Linked DNA regions of Homo sapiens: region 2 is linked to region 1. The links are contacts of gene promoters, found by promoter capture Hi-C in human tissues and cell types (Jung and others, 2019). All regions are on one chromosome and are shown on one strand. Each heading gives the region's core, a stretch centred on a gene start or on the middle of the fragment in contact. The rest is flanking DNA. Distances are from core to core; before and after follow the strand shown. Region 1 holds the start of COG1 (component of oligomeric golgi complex 1). Region 2 overlaps SLC39A11 (solute carrier family 39 member 11).

The links. The method cuts DNA at HindIII sites, captures the fragments that hold promoters and counts their contacts. A contact is called where the count stands out against the background at its distance.
Region 2: a contact is called between a fragment that was not itself captured here and the fragment with the promoter of COG1 in region 1, in 2 of the 25 tissues and cell types used here (mesendoderm cells and thymus).

The regions. Positions count from the first base shown.
Region 1 is chr17:73,188,504-73,195,379 of GRCh38, forward strand. It overlaps COG1 (component of oligomeric golgi complex 1), which reads left to right and starts at 4,552. Exons shown (of 14, transcript NM_018714.3): 1 at 4,552-4,881. The coding sequence starts at 4,567. RefSeq lists enhancers at 3,779-4,538, 3,824-3,873, 4,504-4,783 and a silencer at 4,834-5,043. The HindIII fragment of the contact is 14,916 bases long and covers 1-6,876 here.
Region 2 is chr17:72,793,455-72,799,984 of GRCh38, forward strand. The region is part of intron 6 of SLC39A11 (solute carrier family 39 member 11); the gene reads right to left. Among named protein-coding and RNA genes, the nearest start is that of LINC00511, 160 kb to the left of the region's middle. The HindIII fragment of the contact is 7,264 bases long and covers 1-6,259 here.

The DNA.
Region 1 (6,876 bases), core at 3,302-5,801:
CAGCTACTCCAGAGGCTGAGGTGGGAGGACCGCTTGGGCCCAGGAGGTCAAGGCTGCAGTGAGCTGTGATCATGCTACTGTACTCCAGTCTCAAATAAATAAATAAATAAATAAATAACAGGAGAAATCTGTCTGCTCAATGTTCTGAATAAGACTATACTGATCAGGACTGGGCGCTGTGGCTCATGCCTGTAATCCCAACACTTTGGGAGGCTCAGGCGGGCAGACCACCTGAGGTCAGGAGTTTGAGACCAGCATGGCCAAAATGGTGAAACCCTGTCTCTACTAAAAATACAAAAAATTAGCCGGGTGTGGTAGTGCGCGCCTGTAGTCCCAGCTACTTGGGAGACTGAGGCACGAGAACTGCTTGAGCCTGGGATGGGAAGGCTGCAGCGAGCTGAGATCATGCCACTGCTCTCCAGCCTGGGAAACAGAGTGAGACTCCGTCTCAAAAAAAAAAAAAAAAAAAGAGTGTGCCGATGGGTCTAAAGAAACTAAAATGTCAGAATATATCCACTGTGTTGAAAGACTGCCCTCCAGCATGCAGATGCTTGGCTACCAGGCATGGCCACCCCATGTGTCATCTGCCCCCAAATCACTGGATAGCCACTCCAACTTGGGTGCCCAAACTGACTGTAGAGACCCACCCTTAGGCAGAGATCAGGAAGCAGTGTGGGTACCATCCGAATGGTGCTCAGAATTGTTTGAGCCATCTGTTTCTTGATATTCTGAAATTTTCTTTGAAGCTAATAATGTGACAATGTAGAAAGATCAAGGACTTCTAGAGCCAGGGGATCTGAAGACAGGCACCTGTGTGAACTCACGCAGGTTGCTTGATGCTAAAGGTTATCACACAACACACATGAACTCATCCCTATACCAGAACTAAACTATGGCAATAAGGCGAAAAGGTGCCTCTTTCACTCAGGTACCTCCTAATACCTTGAGAAAAAAAGGCTCCAGGTTCTCATCTCTGTCTTGCTGTCCCCGGCACAGTGCCTGGCCCGGCTGTGGCAGCTGAGGTCTTTGCCCCTGATCCGTGGTTTTGATGGTCCCAGCTGATATGCAGAAGGCAGAGGAAGGGGGTGGTGCTGTCCTGGGAGGCAGAGGACAAGGAAAGGAGCCATGGAGAGGAAAGAGTTAAAGACACATTTCCTCCAGGGCCAGGAGCTTTTCCAGTGACCAGGCAGTCAGGTGACAGCTTCTGTCAGTGCTCAGTTCTGCAGGCAGAGGAACAACAGTGGCATCTTCAGGCCAGTCAGATGAACTTGGCCAGGGAAATACAGAGGAAAGGCAGGGAACACCCTGATTTCAAACCACACTCTGGACTAGGTGAGGTGGCTCACACCTGTAACCCGAGCACTTTGGGAGGCTGAGGTGGGAGGATCCCTCTAGCCCAAGAGTTTGAGACCAGCCTGGGCAACAGAGTGAGGCCCTGTCTTTACACAAAAATTAAAAAATTAGCCGGGCATGGTGGTGCACACCTGTTAATCCCAGCTACTAGGGAGGCAGAGGTGGGAGGATTGCTTGAGCCCAAGAGGTGGAGGCTTCAGTGAGCCGTGATTGCACCCCTGCACTCCAGCCTGGGCAACAGTGAGACCCTGTCTCAGAACACACACAAACACACACAGACACACACACACACTGCAGTGTTGACAGCTGGCCAGTTTGTCTTTTCTCTACCTGACTCAGAACACACACACACACACACACACACACACACACACACACTGCAGTGTTGACAGCTGGCCAGTTTGTCTTTTCTCTACCTGAGCTTACAGGTATTGTGCACAAGCGCAAGGACCATCCCATACAAAGCCCTGGGCCCCCCACTATCCCTGATATGTTGACATTTCTCCCCTTGCTGTAAGAAAGGCTTCAACCAAACTCTCATGGAGCTGGAACCTTAGTGCAGTGTATATCAGTTAGGGCTAGGGCAAACCAGGGAAACCGATTTTGATTTTCAAAGAAACAAAATTGATCAGTAAGACACTGCACAGTTCATAGAATCTCTGGGAAAGATGGGGAGGCAGGTTCAGGGGACAGGCAGGAAGGAAGGAAGGGAAACAGAACATTTAAAACCTAGACGAGCACACCACATGGTGATTCTGTCGAGGACGTCATTGTGGGTGCCCACGGCTGCCACCAGCACCACCGCCAGCATTAGCAGCTGGGAGCTGGAGCTAAGTTCACTGCCCTTGCTGTCCTTAGGGAGTGGATGTTGCCGGTGATACCTGTGCCACCACCAAAATGCAATCGCCCCTGTCACCTGCGATTTTTTTTTTTTTTTTTTTTTGAGACAGGGTCTTGTTCTGTTGTCTAGGCTGGAATGCAGTGGCCCAATCATGGCTCACTGACGCAGTCTCGACCTCCAGAGGCTCAAGTGATCCTCTTGCCTCACTTGCCTCTTGTCAAGTGGCTGGGACTACAGGTCCACAGGCCCACACCACTACTCCCGGCTAATTTTCTTTTTCTTTTTTTTTTTGAGACGGAGCCTCACTCTGTCGCTCAGGCTGGAGTGCAGTGTCTCGATCTCGGCTCACTGCAACCTCCGTCTCCCAGGTTCAAGTGATTCTCCTGCCTCAGCTTCCTGTCTGCTGCCTCAGCCTCCCGAGTAGCTGGGATTATAGATGTGCGCCACCACGCCCAGCTAATTTTTGTATTTTTAGTAGAGACAGGGTATCACCATGTTGGCCAGGCTGGTCTCGAACTCCTGACCTCATGTGATCCGCCTGCCTCGGCCTCCCAAAGTGCTGGGATTACAGGCATGAGCCACCCGGCGCGCGCCCCTTTTTTTGTATTTTTTTGTAAGGACGGGGTTTGGCCGTGTTGCCCAGGCTGGTCTTGAACTCCTGGGCTCAAGGGATCCACACGCCTTGGGCTCCCAAAGTGCTGGGATTACAGCCTGCTTCTTAATGTCACTAACTCTTCACCCAAGTCCTAGGCGCTTGTGCCTGCTGTGCCAGTCCCAGGCCGCAGGCTGGCACCGTAGCTATAAAGGGCGCCAGAAAAAAAGATTTTGCTAGATAGCGATGAATTCCCCAATCACAGAAAGGAGATACTGCGGATGCTTATCAGCCGAATACCAGTAAGTGTCCCTTGCAGAATGGGATTAGAGACTGCAAACTGCAGGCCTGCCAACAGAGGGTGCTCTGTGGGAAATTATGTGAAAACGTAGAAAAGAGCGCGAGCCAGTAATTTAAAAATCGACGTCCAAATACTCACTGGGTCACCTATCAGCTATGTAATTTGGGCAGGTAAATAAGCTTTTGTTTCTTTTTTTTTTTTCCTCATAAATGGACTAGGAATATTACTCCTACCTACCTGGCATGGCCGATGTGCGAGAAAATGAGATAATCTCGTGGACAGGCTCTGAAAACTGCACTTTTACTGAGTAAAAAACCCTTTGCCTCTCCGGGCCCCCGTTTCCCCATCTGTAAAATGAGTCTGTAAAGTGAGAATGATACTCCCTACGCCGCAAGGCTCTTGCGGGTTAAACTGGAATATTATAAATGCACCATTTATTTGCAGATTGAAATTCTGTGCGTCCGGAGGTGGCGGGTGGGAGAGGGAATGAGCAGGGATGCAGGGTAGGCCCTGAGTTGCTGGGGGCTCAGCATGGCCGCTGCGCACATTGCATCATTTTGTCGACACTGGTGTGGGTGAAATCTTCCAAAAGAAATTAAAACAGAAAAAAAAAAAAAGAAGGGTCTGGGACTTAGCAGAAACAAGCCACAATCTCCAGATTCTACTATTCCTGGGCCACGTGAGGAGCGCCCACCCGTCTGGCGCTGCGTTCCCCGGGGCGTCCCAGCCTCTCCCGCCCAGCCCGCCGCCCTCCTCCCCCATGGCCACCAAGGTCAGGCTCTCGCAGGGAAAACGTCTTCAGGGGCTAAACATCGGTTTTAAACGAAATGGAAAACCTCCAACACGAATCAACAGCAGAGGAAAAGCAGACGCCAAACAAGCGCTCAGAACCCCTTCAGGGGCGGCGTGGTAGCTCTTCCCGGGGAACAGCGAGGGGCGCGGATGTCCCTCTTCCTAAAACTGCACGCGGGGTGCGATCCGAGACCCAGCGGCGGCGAGCGCGCCCGAGTCTGCTCGCGGGCGCCAGGCGCGCGGAGAGCGGCGGCTGCGCCTGCGCCAACGCCGTCAGTCCGCGGGGCCCGATCCCGACACCTAACTCCACAGAGAAGCTCTGCTCCTAAGGGAAAGGGAAGACTTCAGCCACAGTTTCGCAGCCAACCTGGCGACCTCACCTCTCTGGCGACCTCACTTCCCAGCCGGCTCCGTTTAAGAAAACCCCGCGCAGGACCGCGCCCGCCCCCGCGCCCGCGCCCGCCCCCGCCCCCTCGCGCCCGCCCCCTCGCGCCCGCCCCCTCGCGCCCGCCCCCTCGCGCCCGCCCCCTCGCGCCCGCCCCCTCGCGCCCGCCCCCTCGCGCCCGCCCCCTCGGGTAACAAACATGGCCCCCGGCGGGGCGGAAGCGCTTCCGCCCCCAACGAAGATGGCGGAGGGGGCGGGACTAAAAGGGCGTAGGTAGATCGCCGGGGGCTGACGAGTGCACCATGGCCACCGCGGCAACCTCACCCGCGCTGAAGCGGCTGGATCTGCGCGACCCTGCGGCTCTTTTCGAGACGCATGGAGCGGAGGAGATCCGCGGGCTGGAGCGCCAGGTTCGGGCCGAGATCGAGCACAAGAAGGAGGAGCTGCGGCAGATGGTGGGCGAACGGTACCGCGACCTGATCGAGGCGGCCGACACCATCGGCCAGATGCGCCGCTGCGCCGTGGGGCTAGTGGACGCCGTGAAGGCCACCGACCAGTACTGCGCCCGCCTCCGCCAGGCCGGCTCGGCCGCGCCCCGGCCACCGCGGGCCCAGCAGGTCAGTCCCCGTGCCCCCACCCTGCGACCCGCAGGCGGGTCCCGGAGCCCCTGGCCTTGCAGGTCAACCCCGCCCCCCTCTGTCAGTCCCAGACCCCGCGAGTCCTCACCTTCCTTAGCCAGGAGCCTATCCGCCCCTCACCCTTTGGGCCCCCCTCAGAGGACAGTGCCAGCCTTCCTTGCACATATGCGGCTGCTGATCCGTTCTGGAAATGCCATTCAACAGTTTCTTCAGGCGCTTTCCCCCGACTTCCGGGCCTTGATTCCTACACCTCACTGGGCTCCTTTCAATTTTAGCGGAAAACGCCAGGAGTTTCTGTCTTGACAGTTCAACGCTCACCTATATAACATGTCCTGACATTGTTTTTCCTCAGGTTTCTCCCCTATGTTGACACCTGCACTCCAAGTCATTTCTTCCTCATCCCAACCTTCCCCTTATCTCCCCAAGAATAACTTCCACAACCCCAAATAGCTGTTCTACCCTTTGGGAGTTGTTGAGGGTACCAGCTATCAAGCCCTTAACTTTATGTATGTATGTGACAGGGTCTCCCAAAGTGCTGGGATTACAGTCATGAGCCACCACAGCCGGCCAAGCCCTTACCTTTTAATAGCTGAACATTTTCATTTTCAGAACTAAGGCTTTTTTCATTCAGGTTCTCCTTATCCCGTGTTCTTCCCCCCAAACGCTATTGATTAGACACAATGAGGAAGGATGGGAGGTAAACAAACACATCCTCATATTGGAGCTGCAGCTTGCGTTCCTAAAGAATTTTTATTGGCCGGGTGCGGTGGCTCACGCCTGTAATCCCAGCACTTTGGGAGGCCGAGGCGGGTGGATCACGAGGTCAGGAGATCCAGACCATCCTGGCTAACACGGTGAAACCCCGTCTCTACTAAAAATACACAAAATTAGCCAGGCGTGGTGGCCGGCGCCTGTAGTCCCAGCTACCTGGGAGGCTGAGGCAGGAGAATGGCATGAACCCGGGAGGCGGAGCTTGCAGTGAGCCGAGATCGCGCCACTGCACTCCAGCCTGGGCCACAGAGCGAGACTCTGTCTCAAAAAAAAAAAAAAAAAGAATTTTTATTTCTTTATTTTTTGAGACAGGATCTCGCTCTGTCACCCAGGCTGGAGTGCAGTGGCGCGATCTCGGCTCACTGCAACCTCCGCCTCCCGGGTTCAAGCGATTCTCCTGCCTCAGCCACCCGCGTAGCTGGGATTACAGGCACCTGCCACCATGTCCGACTAATTTTTGTACTTTCAGTAGAGACGGGGTTTCACCATATTGGCCCGGCTGGTCTCCAACCCCTGACCTCATGTGATCTGCCTGCCTTGGCCTCCCAAAGTGATGGGATTACAGGCGCGAGAGCCACCGCGCACGGCCCCTTAAAGAATATAGACCTAGCAATGAACGAAGTGAAAGGGCATGAAGGGTGAAAAAGGTAAACAGTTAGTTGTTTTTAACAGCCTGGGAGAACTTACTGGGACATAGAAGAAAAAATTGAAAAGTACAGTCTAACTCCAATTTGGAACTTGTTCATGCTATCTGAGCTTTACAGAAATCCTGGTCAGTAGACTGGACTGACACAATAAAACTATAGGAAGTTGCAAATAAGTTTGCATATTTTTGAAATGAGTGACCTCATCCCTCCCAAAGCTAACATTTAGTACACGTGTCCCCTTAGGTGGCCAGCCTTTGCTGTAACTGAGTCATGCTTCAGGGTTTATTAAAACGCTAACTTGAATTATGCCTGATTTTAGAAACGTATTGATTTTCATAGTTGTTATATCTGGTTTATTCTCGGTTAACCCTACAAAAATTTGAGTGTCTTCTTCGTTCACATTACAAAGAAACAGAAGTCCCCCAATTCCTGCTCTGAAGGAGCTTACAACCTGGTCGAGGAAATAAATCCATGGAAACTTGACGAGAAAAAAATGTAAAAAAATTTAGAATAACAGGTCAGGCGCTGTGGCTCATGCCAGCACTTTGGGAGGCCA
Region 2 (6,530 bases), core at 1,378-3,877, 400 kb before region 1:
GGGAGAGATTTTCTTTCTTTCATACAATGTATAACATGTGATGGCAGATTGGATTGCGTGGAATAGAGAAATAGACAGGGAGGAAAAGGACTAAGGGTACCAGATTTCTAGCTTTTAAGAGGGAAATGCTTCTTTTTTTAATTTTTTTTTAAAAACACAGAGATGGGGTCTCGCTATGTTACCCAGGCTGGTCTCAAACTCCTGGCCTCAAGCAATATTCCTGCCTCAGCCTCCCAAAGTGTTGGGATTACAGGCGTGAGCTGCCACACCCAGTCTGGAAAATGCCTCTTGATGTGCACATCGTTCTATCTGAATTAATGGAATACAGTGCCCAGAAAGGAAATGAATAACAATGATCAACAAATTCTGCTTCTCTAAGATTAAGGCTAGGGGAGTGTACCTTGGCAGTTGCAGAACCTGACTCCTGTATCCTTTCTCCCCCTTCACAGCAAGGCTGGGTTACAAATGACACAGCTGATACCACACCGGCCAGTATACAGAGAAGAACAAAGAGTCTTCAGGTTGAAAGAAAGCTTGAGGGACCCATAGTCCTGCCTCTAACTGTAATAACAGCCTTCAAAATCTAGGCCATTGTTAGCATCAGGCTCTGCCTGAGGTTTGTGGCATTCTCCTGAGAGAAGCTTTACCCATCCTGAGAAAATGAGATTTTGCACCTTGGAGCTGATGGGAACGCCTGGGAACAGTCACTGTACACAGCTCACAATGGGTCCCAGCACCTGCTCTCACCTAGAAAGGAAATTCAGAAGCTCCTGCTCATCACCATCACACAGTCCATGAGTACAAATCACCCATCATAAGAAAGGAGCTTGCTGGAGAAAAGGCAGCAAAGCCTTGGAGAATACAGCAGAGGCAACCAGCCCCCACCAAGCCAGCGAGCGCGGTGAGGACTCACACTGACTCCACAATCCTTCTGTTGGGTCCCAGCCAATCATTTTTCTAATTGAGTGAGAAAATCTGATAATATTGTTCCCCTGACTGAAGCCTTCGTTTCTTCTCATCACTCTAAAGATGAAGTGCAAAGTGCTTATCATGGTCCCCAAGGCCCCGGTGTCCTGTCCTCTGCCTATATCCCCAGCTGTGTCCAAGCCACTCCCTGCTCCCTCCTTCTCTACACTCAAACTGTCCAGTCCTCCCTTCTTTTCCTGCATCTCATTAGCACCTTACTTGTGCAGGGCTTTGTGTGTGCTATGCCCTTAGCCTGGGACACTCGCCTCCCTCTTCCCATCTCTTCACCTGGCCAATTTATTCTCTTCCTTCAAGTCCCAGGGTGACTTTCATTTCCTCCAGCAAGTGCCTCCTCTCTGCCCCTCTGAATTAATTATCTTTTGCTGTATAACAAGGTACCCAACATTTAGCAGCTCAAAACAACACACATTGACTATCTCACACTGTTTCTGTGGGTCAGGGATGGGGAAAGAAAGGCACAAGACCTGTCAACATCCACGACATTAGCATCCACACTGGATATGAGGGATGAATGCCACCAGAATTCTGAGGGCAGAGGACCTCCGACTGTGAAAGAAGATTCTATCCACAGTCAAGTTATCAGCCCAAAGTGAAGTTATGATAACATTTTCAGGTACGCAGAGTATCAAATAATTTATCTCCCTCATGCCCTGTATTAACAATCTACTGCTGTATAACATCTTCCCTGCAAATTTGGTGGCTCATACCAATAATCCTGTATGGTCTCAGTCTCTGAGACTCAGAATCCAGGAGGGGCTTAGCTGGATGGCCCTGGCTCGGGGTCTGTCATGAGGCTTCAGTCATGACAGTAGCCTGGGCTGTTGTCATCAGAAGGCTTGAGTGGGGCTGAAGGATCCACTTCCAAGCTCACCTGTGCAGCTGCTGGCTTGGAGTTTCAGTCCCTTGGCATCATAGGTTTGCCTTAAAGACACAGGGCTGCTGATAACATGGCAGCTGGCTTCCCACAGAGCAAGACATGACAGAGAAAGAGAGAGAGAGAGTGCAAGAGAGCAAGACAGTGATAGCACAACAGAGCAACCAAGATGGAAGCCACAGAGACTTCACTTGACCTCAACTCTAAGGTCGCACACCATCACTTTTGCTTTTTCCTATTTGTTAGAAGTGAACCACTGAGAAGTCTAGCACACACTGGAGAAGGAGAATTAGGCTCTATTGCTCTATTTCTTGAAGGGATGATATTAACAGATTTCTGGACATATTATTAAAACCACCCATCCTCCCAACAGAAGAGTTCAAAATTCCCTGTGAGGTGGCTCAGTGGTCATAGCACACCATGCCTCGGCTTCTTACTACTTGTCACAGAGGCAATTAACCAATTATGTGTGTAATCTGCAGGGTACTATCAGTCTCTCTTTCTAAATCCAAGGCTTCAGGAAGACAAGGACTATTATAAGCTATATCCCTGGTGAATAGCACACCATTTGGTATGTAACAGGGGCTCAAGAGATATTTATTGGATGAATAAGCAAATGAGCAAATAACAAATGAAAGAGGGAAGAATACTGGGGGGAGAAGAAATAGTATATAGAAAATGACTACAACAAAGAGGTCAAAATTGCAAGAATTTTTATACAGTGCAATGCTAAGATAATGAAATACAAATTCAGAGCAGCAGGCCAACCAGCCTCCATTTGCTAGGACTGCAGCTCACATACTCTGAGTTATGAGGATGAAGCCCTGGGCTGAGCCTCAGGCAGCAGGAAACTCCTTAGACTGGCTCAGCAGGCTGCTGGTAAAACAGAAAACCTATTTTCCAACACACGAGACAGAAGAGCCGGGAAGTCACATCTCCTTTATCAAGCGAGGCTTCTCTCATCGTCCTCTTGGTAGCGACAGGCTTCAAATCCACACACTCCCATCAACAGCACCCAGGGAAGCCAGCCAGTAGGTTTTTCCTGGCTTCTGCTGGTGGGGTCACTCTATATGCATGAGAAGGAGGGCTTTTTGCTGCGCTCCTATTCCCAAGACCACTGCTACAGATTCTTGGAAATACACCCTCCCCGTGGAGCTGGGCTTCCAGGATCAACCACACAGCAGTCTGAGCTTGGCCCCTGCAGGCACAGCCCAGGGCATGCCAGGTGAGGGGAAGGGCGAGTGGCAAAGGAGAACAGAGGGGAAAGGGAAGACAGAATCATGAGCAGAAAGCACGTTTCAACAGGCAGCTGAAAAAACGAGACCTAGGCCCTGGAGGGGGCACGCTGTGCCCAGAGCAAACCACACACACACAAATCCAGCAGCATCACCACCTCAAATTCGATGCTGACTTAGCACTGACTAAGTGCAATTCTCCCACCTCAGCCTCCTGAGTAGCTGGGATTACAGGCACCCACCACCACGCAGGGGTTTCACTGACATGCTCGATACTGTGAAGTGCTAAGTATGCAAGAAGATGTGACAACCCAGCCCTGATTTTCAAAGTTACCTGTGGGCATAACACACAGACGAAATGATGACCGAGAATGCAATACAAGGTGGCAAGTGCCAAAGAAGTGATGTGTACAGCATGTGTCAGAAGGGAGCTGTCCCTAGGATGGGGCCGTCCCTGAACTTTCCTGAGGGAGTCAGAGCTTGAACTTCGTGATTCCTGCAACAGTGTTGTAGCTTGAAAGTGCCTGTGTGTGAGGAGCGTGTATCTCACACATTGTTCCATGTTCAATGTGCCTAATACAAAACAAGAATCTACCTACAAGGGGTTTACCATCTTGCTGAGGATGTAAGACTTGTGCACAAATACCCGCCATCCAAAGCAGCTCAAGAGGCTATGCTAGTGTTAATAATAATAAATAATAGTAGCCATGTCCCTGAGGAATGCCAACCCATCTATTCTACTGCTGGAGGCAATACGGAGCCTCTGCAGGGCTCAGTGTCCACATCTGTGAAATGGGGTTGTAGGAACACTGACTAAGATAAGGAATAGAGTAACTACTGGCAGGTAAAGGCACTTGAGTGTCTCTCCTTCCTCCTCCTTCCATCTTCCATGAAGATGATCAGGCAAGAAGAAGGTAGCATTAGATGAGGGCTAATTTAAAAGATGGGGTACTGGCAAGGAAAGGCTCTATTTGCTTGGGGGAATAATGGAAGACAGGGCCAAGTAAAGGGTTGAGGAGGGCGAATTGACTGTGGTGCACACATTCTAATACCAGCAGCCTCATCTACCAAGCCAGGCACTTGACATGCACTACCTCGTCTAATACCCCACTAACTCACGGGATGCACACCATCGTGGCCCGGCTCTGCAGAGGATGGAGCTGAAGTTTAGGGATATCAAGTGTCCAATCTAAGCTCGCAGGTGGCACAGCCAGAACCTGGACCCAGATCCTTTATTCCAATGTGCTCATAACCACTTCCTAATGCTGCCTCTGGGGGATGCTTCGTGCTGGGGGGCACTGACCCATGAGGCTGAAGGGGAAGTCTAGAAGAAGGAGTTTGCATCTAGCATCTGGCAGCCTAGGAGTACATTTCCTATCACCCAGGGAGGCTATGTCTTGCTCTTGGTTTCTCTCTCATGCACTCATGGGAGTGACGAGAAAAGGAGAAAGGACAGACGTGACCACAGACTTAGTGAGTGCAGATGTTGGAAGGAGAGGGCTGGAATCATGCTGAGCCTTCCCGTTTGGGCACGTGGAGATGGGTGTATCACTAGGAGAAGTAGGGTTACTGGTGGGGAGGAGAGGAGGCAACTTCAGGTTATGTGTGTTGAGTGTGAAATGCCCCAGTATATTGAAATGTGTCTTAGTCTGCTCACGCTGTTATAACAAAGTACCACAGACGGAGGGGCTTAAATGACAGAAATGTGTAGAGCGGTTCTGGAGGCTGGAAGTCTGAGCTCAGTGTGCCAGCATGGTCATGTTCTTGGTGAGTAATCTTCAGGCTTGCAAAGAGCCACCTTCCACTGTGTCCTCACATGGTGAACAGAGAGAGAGACTGAGCTCTGGTCTCTTCCACTTCTTTCTTTCTTTTTTTTTTTTTGAGATGGAGCCTCACTCTGTTGCCCAGTCTGAAGTGCAATGGCACGATCTCAGCTCTCTGCAACCTCTGCCTTCCAGGTTCATGCAATTCTCCGACCTCAGCCTCCCGAGTAGCTGGGATTACAGGCACCCACCACCATGCAGGGGTTTCACCACGTTGGTCAGGCTGGTCTCGAAATTCTGACCTCAGGTGATCCACCCACCTTGGTCTCCCAAAGTGCTGGGATTACAGGCATGAACCACCACACCCAGCCTGTCCCACTTCTTATAAGAACACTAATCTCACCAAGGGGGCCCCACCCTCCTCACCTCATCTAAACCTAATCACCTCCCAAAGGCCCCTTCTCCAAATACCATCACACTGGGGGCTAAGGCTTCACAATATGAATGGGTGAGGGACACAAGCATTCAGTCCAGAGCAAACTGTCAGCATCTAGCTGGGGGAGGAAAATCATGAGTGGCATCTTTGGGAAGGAAGGCAGGCCCAGATGTAGAGAATTGAGAAGAGAGCTGAAAATCTGAGAGGGCACAAGAAGGCCAAAGATAGGGAGAAGAAGAGGACCATGGGTTGGTGGAGGAGGGGAGAGGAGCTGGCAAGGTTTTGACTTGTGCACTTGGACGTGAGTGTGTGTGTCTGTGAGTGTGCACATGTATGGTTGCATGCATGTCTGTTGCAGGAAGTCAGGGACCCCAAACGGAGGGACCAGCTGGAGCTGTGGCAGAGGAACATAAATTGTGAAGATTTCATGGGCATTTATCAGTTCCCAAATAATACTTTTATAATTTCTTATGCCTGTCTTGTCTTTAATCTCTTAATCCTGTTATCTTTGTAAGCTGAGGATGTATGTCACCTCGGGACCACTGTGATAATTGTGTTAACTGTACAAATTGATTGTAAAACATGTCTGTTTGAACAATATGAAATCAGGGCACCTTGAAAAAGAACAGAATAACAGCGATTTTTAGGGAACAAGGGAAGACAACCATAAGGTCTGACTGCCTGTGGGGTCGGGCAAAAAAAGCCATATTTTTCTTCTTGCAGAGAGCCTATAAACAGACGTGCAAGTAGGGAAGATATTGCTAAATTCTTTTCCTAGCAAGGAATATTAATATTAATACCCTGGGAAAGGAATGCATTCCTGGGGGGAGATCTATAAATGGCCACTCTGGGAGTGTCTGTCTTATGCAGTTGAGATAAGGACTGAGATACGCCCTGGTCTCCTGCAGTACCCTCAGGCTTACTAGGGTGGGGAAAAACTGCCCTGGTAAATTTGTGGTCAGACCGGTTCTCTGCTCTCGAACCCTGTTTTCTGTTGTTTAAGATGTTTATCAAGACAATATGTGCACCGCTGAACACAGACCCTTCTCGGTGGTTCTGTTTTTGCCCTTTGCCCTGTGATCTTTGTTGGACCCTTATCAGTGGTTCTGCTTTTTGTCCTTTGAAGCATGTGATCTTTGTACCTACTCTCTGTTCTTACACCCCCTCCCCTTTTGAAACCCTTAATAAAAACTTGCCGGTCTGAGACTCAGGCGGGCATCACGGTCCTACTGATA